2 separate regions of the Homo sapiens genome follow, and region 1 is linked to region 2. The links are contacts of gene promoters, found by promoter capture Hi-C in blood cells and fetal thymus (Javierre and others, 2016). All regions are on one chromosome and are shown on one strand. Each heading gives the region's core, a stretch centred on a gene start or on the middle of the fragment in contact. The rest is flanking DNA. Distances are from core to core; before and after follow the strand shown. Region 1 overlaps SDCCAG8 (SHH signaling and ciliogenesis regulator SDCCAG8). Region 2 holds the start of FH (fumarate hydratase).

What was found. The method cuts DNA at HindIII sites, captures the fragments that hold promoters and counts their contacts. A CHiCAGO score of 5 or more calls a contact.
Region 1: a fragment that was not itself captured here is called in contact with the fragment with the promoter of FH in region 2 in 5 of 17 cell types (naive CD4 T cells, non-activated CD4 T cells, total CD4 T cells and 2 more); the score reaches 11.0 in naive CD4 T cells.

What each region holds. Positions count from the first base shown.
Region 1 is chr1:243,315,865-243,320,321 of GRCh38, forward strand. SDCCAG8 (SHH signaling and ciliogenesis regulator SDCCAG8) reads left to right here. Exons shown (of 18, transcript NM_006642.5): 9 at 891-1,029. Among named protein-coding and RNA genes, the nearest start is that of MIR4677, 28 kb to the right of the region's middle. RefSeq lists a silencer at 503-797. The HindIII fragment of the contact is 8,285 bases long and covers 1-4,457 here.
Region 2 is chr1:241,517,705-241,522,311 of GRCh38, forward strand. It overlaps FH (fumarate hydratase), which reads right to left and starts at 2,051. Exons shown (of 10, transcript NM_000143.4): 1 at 1,887-2,051. The coding sequence starts at 2,018. RefSeq lists silencers at 1,486-1,755, 1,931-2,213, 2,036-2,165 and an enhancer at 1,829-2,425. The HindIII fragment of the contact is 3,380 bases long and covers 1,067-4,446 here.

The DNA of each region.
Region 1 (4,457 bases), core at 1,190-3,689, 1.8 Mb after region 2:
ATGTAACAGTCCAGCATACATTTTTTGCTTTTTATGTCTTGAAAGTTTCCTGCCTCACTTTCTCTTTGTCTACTGGATATTTTTATTCAGTTGATAAATTGCAAATATCCTAGAATATTTTATATGGGACTTATTTAATCAATGAGATTGTATCCTTGCTATTTTACATGCCAGAGCATTTTGGCATTTGGTTCACTTCTACTCCCAATAAACAGCTTAGGATAGAGTACTTCTGAGAATTGCTGAAGAAGGGTGGGTCTTGGCAATGATCAAACCCAGTGGGATAAGATTGTGTTAAATTGTGAATGTTATATGCATAGCCAGGAGATTGGAGGAGTTCAACAGTACTAATCATTGAGCAACAACAAGTGTTCATAAGTAACTGAAAGAATGTAATTGAAAGAGAAGTGCAAAAAAGAGGATTGTGGAGAAAGATAAAAAGGAAAGGACATATATTTGTTCAAGTAAATGAGAGGAGAATCTGCTGCATGGACAAAGCCTCAGTCCTTCCTTAAAATGTTGACTGCTACCTTGATTTACAATTCGTACCTTCCCTACTTTGCTGCATTTTTCCTTTTCAGCACCTCCCCCCACTTTTAAAAAACTAATTTGCTCTTCTCTGGGCTTTCCCCTGCAGCCCTCTCCACAATAGATGATTGTCCCGCACAGATGCCGTCCTGCCACGAAGGCTCTTAGCCTTTCTGGCTGCTCCGCCCGCCGCTCGCCAAGTGAGGACAGAGGGTCTTTCTCTGGGGTGTGCTTTATTTCATATGTGCTCAGCCGGCCTACCCTGGCTCTTCTAATACATATTAATGCTTTTCTCTCCCTGACTTATGAGGACAGGATCGTTTGATCATTTCTTGTTTTGAATGTTCTTTTTGTGCTGACAGAGAAAGAGATGACTTGATGTCTGCACTAGTTTCCGTAAGGAGCAGCTTGGCAGATACGCAGCAAAGAGAAGCAAGTGCTTATGAACAGGTGAAACAAGTTTTGCAAATATCTGAGGAAGCCAATTTTGAAAAAACCAAGGCAAGTCTAATAAGATGCAAATAAAAGTGTCTTTCTTTTTTTTTTCTTTTTTCTTCTGAGTATTTATTTGGTTATTCTTCTATAACTAAACTTTGTTTTTCAAACACACAAAGTGAATTATCAATCTGTTAATGTTGACTTTTCTGAATTAAACAAATTTGCTATTTGGAGAATTCTTACTGCTCTGCAAATACTGTTGTTGTATCACTGTTCAGAGAATGTAGTACAGTATAATACTTTGAGAGACCTATATGCTTAATCTTTTTATTTGCTGATAATTTGCAATGCTGCAAAAATCTTAACACCCAGGCATTAGTTTGTATGTGTTCGTATATGACTAAAGACAAATGTTTTTCCTCAATAATTGGGAAGTTTTGAGAAAATCCAAATATACCAAAGACAATAATATATACATATTTAGTAGCATTTTTTTTTTTTTTTTTTTGAGACAGAGTCTTGCCCTGTCGCCCAGGCTGGAGTGCAATGGCACGATTTCGGCTCACAGCAACCTCTTCCTCCTGGGTTCAAGTGATTCTCCTGCCTCAGCCTCCCAAGTAGCTGGGATTACAGACACGGGCCATCATGCCCAGCTAATTTTTGTATTTTTAGCAGAGATGGTGTTTCACCATGTTAGCCAGGCTGGTCTGGAACTCATGACCTCAGGTGATCTGCCCATCTCGTCCTCCCAAAGTGCTGAGATTACAGGCGTGAGCCACTGCGCCCGGTCTTAGTAGCATCTTTGAGTCTGGACTTACTGTAAGGTAACTCAAACATACTTAATGAGAATAACAGTTTATACTTAGTGATCGGACGGTGTTATAGGCACTTTGAAGAATAGGAGGTTACTGTTGATTCATTACTGTATTTGGGGGCCACACCGTAATCCGTTAAAGTTGCATGTATTTTCCCTAGACACACTAGCATACAATTCAAGTTCTTAATGGCCACGTGTAGCAAATATTGGACAGTGCAGATATAGAGCATTTTCATTATCATGAAAAGTTTTGTTGGATAGCACTGGTCTAAACCATATATGAATCTCAGTGTTTTATTAAAATATTAGGGCTACATTACTGAGTATATGCCCAGAGGAATATAAATCATTCTGCTGCAAAGACACATGCATGTGAATTGTCATTGCAGCACCCTTCACAATAGCAAACGTAAACGATGGAATTGATGGAATCAACCGAAATTGACGGAATCAATCTAAATGTTCATCACTGACAGATTGTATAAAGAAAATGTGGAACATGGACACCATGGAATAGTATGCAGCCATAAAAAGAATGAGATCCGATCTTTTGCAGGAACATGCATGGAGCCGGAGACAGTTATCCTTAGCAAACTAACGCAGGAACAGAAAGCCAAATACTGCATATTCTTACGTATAAGTGGGAGCTAAATGATAAGAACTTATGAGCACAAAGTAGGAAACCACAGACAGTGGCATCTCCTTGAGGATATAGGGTGGGAGCAGGGAGAGGAGCAGAAGAGATCACTATTGGGTACTGGGCTTAATACCTGGGTGATAAAATAATCTGTATAACAAAACCCCGTGACATGAGTTTGCCTATGTAACAAACCTTCACATGTACCCCCGAACCTAAAATAAAAGTTAAAAAAAAATTAGGGCTATTCAATTCTGCATTAAGCCTCTTGTCAGCCATTGCTATGTCCATTTGTCTTTATCCAGTTCATCCATAACTCTTCCCGTTTGACCCTCATGCCTTTTGAAACTTAGGTTCAGTTATGACCAAACTCCCCAACATACTGTTTCCTCAGACTCTCCTGTTTCTTCATTTGTTGTGAGCTCTAGCTGTCCCTCAATGCCATGTTTCAAAACCTTCAGTGAAGGCCCTTGTGTCAGTCAAGTCGTCTCAGGTGGGTGTGATGGAGGAAACCGCAGTTACTTCACTCCTGACTGCCATTTCCAGGGCTTTGTTTTGGCACTTACTCTCAGGTCCTATTCCTCTTTGAAATTAAGCTACCGCTCTGTGTTAATCTGTTTTGCATTGCTATAAAGAAAGAGCAGAGATTGGTAATTTATAAAGAGAAGTAAGTGGTTTATTTTGGCTCATGTTGTGCAGGCTGCATACGAAGCATGGTGCCAACATATGCTTCTGGTAAGGCCTCAGGAAGATTTCACTCTGACAGCAGGCAGAGGGGAGCAAGCCTCACAAGGGAGCAGGACTGAGCGAGGAGGAGAGGGGCCAGGCCCTTTCTAACAATCAGACCTCAGGATAACTAATAGGGCACCAAGCCATTCATGAGGGATCCACCCCCATGACCCAAACACCTCCCACCAGGCCCCACCTCCAACACTGGAAGTCACATTTCAACATGAGAGATTTGGAGAGGACAGGTATCCAAACCATATCACACTCCTCTTTGAAATCAGTGTTGTCTCTCTCCTCCCTAATCAATAAAATCTCTCAATTGAGAAGGCTCTCTTTGACCCTTTCTATTTTATTTTTATTTTTATTATCATTTTTTTGAGACAGAGTTTCATTCTTGTTGCCCAGGCTGGAGTGCAATGGCGCAATCTCAGCTCACTGTAACCTCAGCTTCCTGGAATCAAGTGATTCTCCCACCTCAGCCTCCCAAGTAGCTGGGATTACAGGCATGCGCCACCATGCCTGGCTAATTTTGTTTTTTTAGTAGAGACAGGGTTTCACAATGTTGGCCAGGCTGGTCTCAAACTCCTGAGCTCAGGTGATGCACCCATCTTGGCCTCCCAAAGTGCTGGGATTACAGGCGTGAGCCACCGCGCCTGGCCCCTTTTTAAAAGTTTTAACATCTGATCCTTTTCCTCTTCATTCTATCTCTTTCATCATCCTTAAATGTTTGAATTTCCATGTTGCTGATACACAAAACACTAATACTCTTCAGCTTCCTTAACTCTACTATATCCCCTACTTCTACGCTAACATCCTGCATGAACTGAAATGCCCCTAAGATCTCTCTGAAACCACACTCTCTGACTAGGGCCTTTGCTCTTCTTTCCTCCCTATCAAAGTTAAATCTACTCCATGTCTTCATTTTCACCTCTAGTTCTTCAGCATTCTTTCTTTTTATCTCTCATTTTATCTGTTGTGTCCAGGCTGGTCTTCTTTTCTTCCCATTTAAACATAAATTTTACCATCTCAAATTGAACTCACACATTCACTCTCCCAAATCTGCTGCCCCTTCTGTATTCTCTTACTGGATGGCACTTTTACTCACTAACATGCTCTGATCAGAAAACTGGATTTCACCCTGTCCTTCACCCCTAACTTTTAACCAGTCACTAAGTACAGATCTGAGTTTCTAACGTTTTCTTGAATTCTTTCCCTCATTAACACTTTTCTTATGGAAGCTAAGTAATCTCTGGATTTATCTATTACACTTCTTCCTAGCTTGCCTCCCTCCTTCGTTCCACTCCCTAC
Region 2 (4,607 bases), core at 801-3,300:
GAAATTTATAAACATTATTTATATATAAACATTATTCACATATATTACATATGTATATTCATTTATATAAGAAATGTATAAACATTATTTACATATATAAACACTATATATATGCCATCATGCTACCAAGTCAGTATCACAGTTGGTCTGCCTGTTAAATATTCTCATTCTCAATGCACTTTTTAATGCATTTTTAATAATCAATGATCACACTAATTATTCATGTGTGATTTATTTGCTTATTTAACTGCTTTGCTTATTTAATCTCCACTAAAGACAAGAATAAAACACTGCCTGTAAAACCCTATCCCCATAGGGACTGTCTTATTTACAGGGCCTGGTAAGTGGAAGGCACTCAATAAACAGTATCTTTCTATTGAATGAATTTGTATGTGTTCTTTTAAATAAAAGGTACCTTAGGGCATCAAGGGTTATGTGAAATTCTCAACATTAGCAACAGGAAGAACTTTTAACAAAACCAACAGAGATTTTGGACCTGAGAATGGTTAGAGGGCAAAAAGTACCAGAACTAGAAAAAACAAAAACTACCTCCATCTGATTTTAGCTAACATTACAATTCTAAGAGCAAAGTAGTGCTGCTATTTTTTGACATTTGCATCAACAGGATAGATTCAGAAGTTCTCCAGTCTGCTTCCCTTTACAAAACACTAAATAAACAATAAATAAATTTAAAAATATGTAAAGGTTTTAAAATGCCCTAAAATTATTCGAGCAGGGAGTTCGAGGAATACAAAACATCTCTGATTCTGTAGTATAGTTGTATATCGTAGGTATAGTGACCCAATCAAATTATCTTGAAGTTTAGAGTCCAGAAAAAGTACTGGCCCTTTGAAATACCCTAGATGGGGCACTTATTTAATGAGCACTCGCTACATGGTATTTTCACATGTGCAGTTTTGCTGAGTAGCTGTAAGTATTTCAACTTTGCATACGGATTTGAAATCACATCTCTTAGATTGCAAACCTCATGCTACACCAGTGCAGAACTGTAACTCTTCAACTATCATTTCTCAAACGTTTCCTAACAATATACATATGTATTTAAAGCTTTTTAAAAGCCTGCATTCCTAAAGATGACACTCTAAAGAGCAAAATGACTTACGTAAGCATGTCATAACCTGAACTTGGATCTTTAAGTTCTTAGCTGGCTTTCTGAATAAAAAGTACCGATTCAGCTCCTAGCCAATCTGCTCAAACATGCTTCAGAACACTATGCCCGCGGTATTCGGAATTGAAGAGTTTTACAACAATTACGGGGGAAACCATAGTCAGCCTAACAAACTGAGCATGCAATTTCAAAGGAAGTAAAATCTTCGAAGAACCTTCTACCCCACCTGGAGGGCCTGAAAGCAGTGCAGTGCCCCTTGGCGAAACAAACCACAGTTCAGAAACCACTAGATGCACAGGCGGCCAGTGTCCGGCCAGCAAGGCCCAGCTATGGGGCAGGACGGTGCGGGAGCTGCCCCTCTCCCAGCACCCTCCGCCCACGCCGGCACTGTCCTTGAGGGCAGCGCCCCGGGGCTGGGGGCCTGCGCGCCAGCAGCAGCGAAGTTACCTCAAAACGCCCCGGCCTCGGCCCGCCACGGACGGCTCCGAGGAGGCGCCGGGAGCGGGCCCAGTAGGACCCTCTCTGACAGCCCCCGTCCCTCCCCAAGCGCTCTCCCGGGCTGCGGCTCCATCCCTGCGCCGGAAGAGGCGTCCCGAGGCCGGGAGGCCCGCCACGCCGGCACGGGCGCTAAGCCCAGAGTCTGGCGCGGCCCGGACGCCCGGGGAATCTCTCCCGCCAAGTCGCGGGCGCCCAGGCCGGCAGGCAGGAGGGCTGAAGGTCACTGCGGGGAGGCCGGGGGATGGCGGCCTGCGCTCACCATTCGAGCCGCGTTCGGAGGCCAAAACGAGGGCACGGCCGCGCCACCCAAGCCGGGAGCCGAAGCTAAGGCTGCGGCTGGAGCCCGCACGAGGGGACGCGAGCGCGCGAGGAGCCGAAGTGCTCGGTACATGGTGCTGAGGGAGCTTGGGTAGAATTTCTGGGCGGCTGTGGCCACGCCTCCACGCCGGTTGTCAGAAACCGTTCCGCCCACCGGCCTCCGCTCTTATCCAATCAACAGCCTCACACCGACAGGTGGGGCAGGACCAATCGTGAATGACCAGTAAAGAATGAGGGGGCGGGTTAACTTTCTAGTAGTAGTGTGGGGTGTAAGGCCTTCGGATTCATGGGAAACTAGAAAGAAGGGAATTATGGGAAAGGAGGCTCAGGTTATTCTTGGAGCCGGTCTGATTTTTACGTGTGGCTGTTAGAAGGCGGGAGTATTAGTTGGTGAATCAGGTCGTGTTTGGTTGGTGAAATATCCTAGAAAGAAATATTTATTGTTTTATTTATCATGTAATCACTCATTACACGTTCTTACTACTGAAATCTTTCTTCATTTCTTCCAGATTGTATCTTCTGTGTAGAAATTTTGGGAAGTGCAGCAAAGTGTAGATAATGAAATAGTAATTATTCATAATCCCACAACTGAAAAATAAGCTACTTACTTATTTCTTTTAACTTATCATTTTGAGATCGCTACCGTTTCCTTTCTCTTCTTAGCCTATACCCTCAGAACTCTTTTTTTTTTTTTAATGTATTGTGGAAGACGTACACAATTATAGGGAACCTCGGAATTTTTATTATTTGTATATCGTTCTCCCAGTTTTTTGCATAGCTAATTTATACATTTTCAAATTAAAGGCATATTGTTTTAATATAATAGTTGATTACAGAAAAGCAGGAATTGATATAAAATTGCATCTGAACCACAGTTTTATCTTTTCTCTTTTCTATTGCTTGGAACCAGATGACAGTAAAGAGAGAGCGATCGGATGTTCTTAAAATCAAAAGTCCAGAACCTGCAAAGCCAAATTTATGAGTCAAACTTACAAACTTGCCAAACCTTTTGGTAACATTATGTTATTTTGTGACTTATAAATTTGACACATATTTAAAATATAAAAATTCAAATGAGATTGTAATAGTTGAACTACAATCAAAACACACTAGAAAACTGAATGCAAATTCTTTAAAACATTGCTAATAATGGAATGACGTTTTGTTTTTGTTCTCCTCCTTCCCAGCAGGTATCATTATTGTGTATATCATTATTTTGATGCATCCTTTCAGTTCTGTGTATTTTTTGCTTCATACACTAATATACAAACAATGGTTTTAATATTTTACTTTAAAGTTTTACTGTTGCATAATTGAACTCTATGCTTTTAAGATATAGCCATGATCTTTTAAAATTAATCATATTGGATCACATGAATATGAAATATTTTATTTATCCAGTTTCTTAATAAAGAACATTTTTCTTTGCTATTACACAAAATTATTTAATGAACATATGTTTATCATTTCTTCATAGATCATCTCTTTCTTCATTGTGTGGTGCCCCTCTTTATTGTTATTGTTGCTTGTCCTTTTAAACTTTTTTTAATATTGATATTTCTCTACCAATTTCATATTGGCTATTATTTGCCTGCTGTATATTTCTCATTTTATTTTATTTTTTGTTTCATTTTTGTTTCGAGCATGTCTCTTATTTCTACCATACAGTTTAACTTTTCAAAACCCAAATTAATAGCCTTTTTATAAATAGGTTATTTTAATCCCTTTTAAAAATTACCTATGACACATATTATGTTCTAGAATTTTTCAAAGCACTTTATATGTATTAATTCTTGGAACACTCAAAAACAACCCTATGAGATAGGTCCTATTATTATTCCTGTACATAGAAGAGAAAAATTGATGCCCAGGAACATCCACATATTTATTTGTGTGTTTTACTTCGATTTATTAGTGAAACTGATTTTCTATCTGCAGTAGTAATATGAAGTTCCATTTTTAATTATTCATTTTATTTGAAGTAAAATATTCAGTATAATATGAAGATGCTATATAAATGACTAAAATTTAGGAAATATTAACTTAGCTAATTTATTTTTATTAATTCGTAATAAAACGTACATAAAGCCTTTAATAAAGGCTAGATATCTTCATTTTAGAATGACTTATGTTATCTATTTGAAATAATGTTTTTACTTTGCTTAGAGTTTGGGTTTTTTTTTTTTAACTTTGGACTTGTCTGATAATAATATTGACCTGCTTTCTTCTTGTTGATGCTTGCCTGGTTTGTTCTTGTTTGTTTTACTTTGCTTTCTGTTTAAGGTAGGGGATGTGATTGGTGTCCTGCTGAGGGACAAGGGAAAAGTGCAATGGTTTTCTCTTGCCTGTGTTCTAAATCTCAACACCTGGCTGACAAAATTGATTGCGAGGTTCAAATTGTATCAATCAAAATGTTCTCCTTATTCAAACTAAAGACTTTTGCAAATTCTAATTTAGGATACCTCCCAGCCTGGGAGATTACCAGTGGGTTTCCTAGAGGAAGCTTAACAGAAAATTTGCAAGATACACCCATAAAAGTCTCCCAGAAAGTAGAGCAAATATTCAAAGAGAAGGAAAATAAAAGAAGTAAATAAAATTAGAGAAACAGTTCAGTATGTCCAACATGTGAATAATGTAGGGGAAACATTAGGAAAAAATGGAA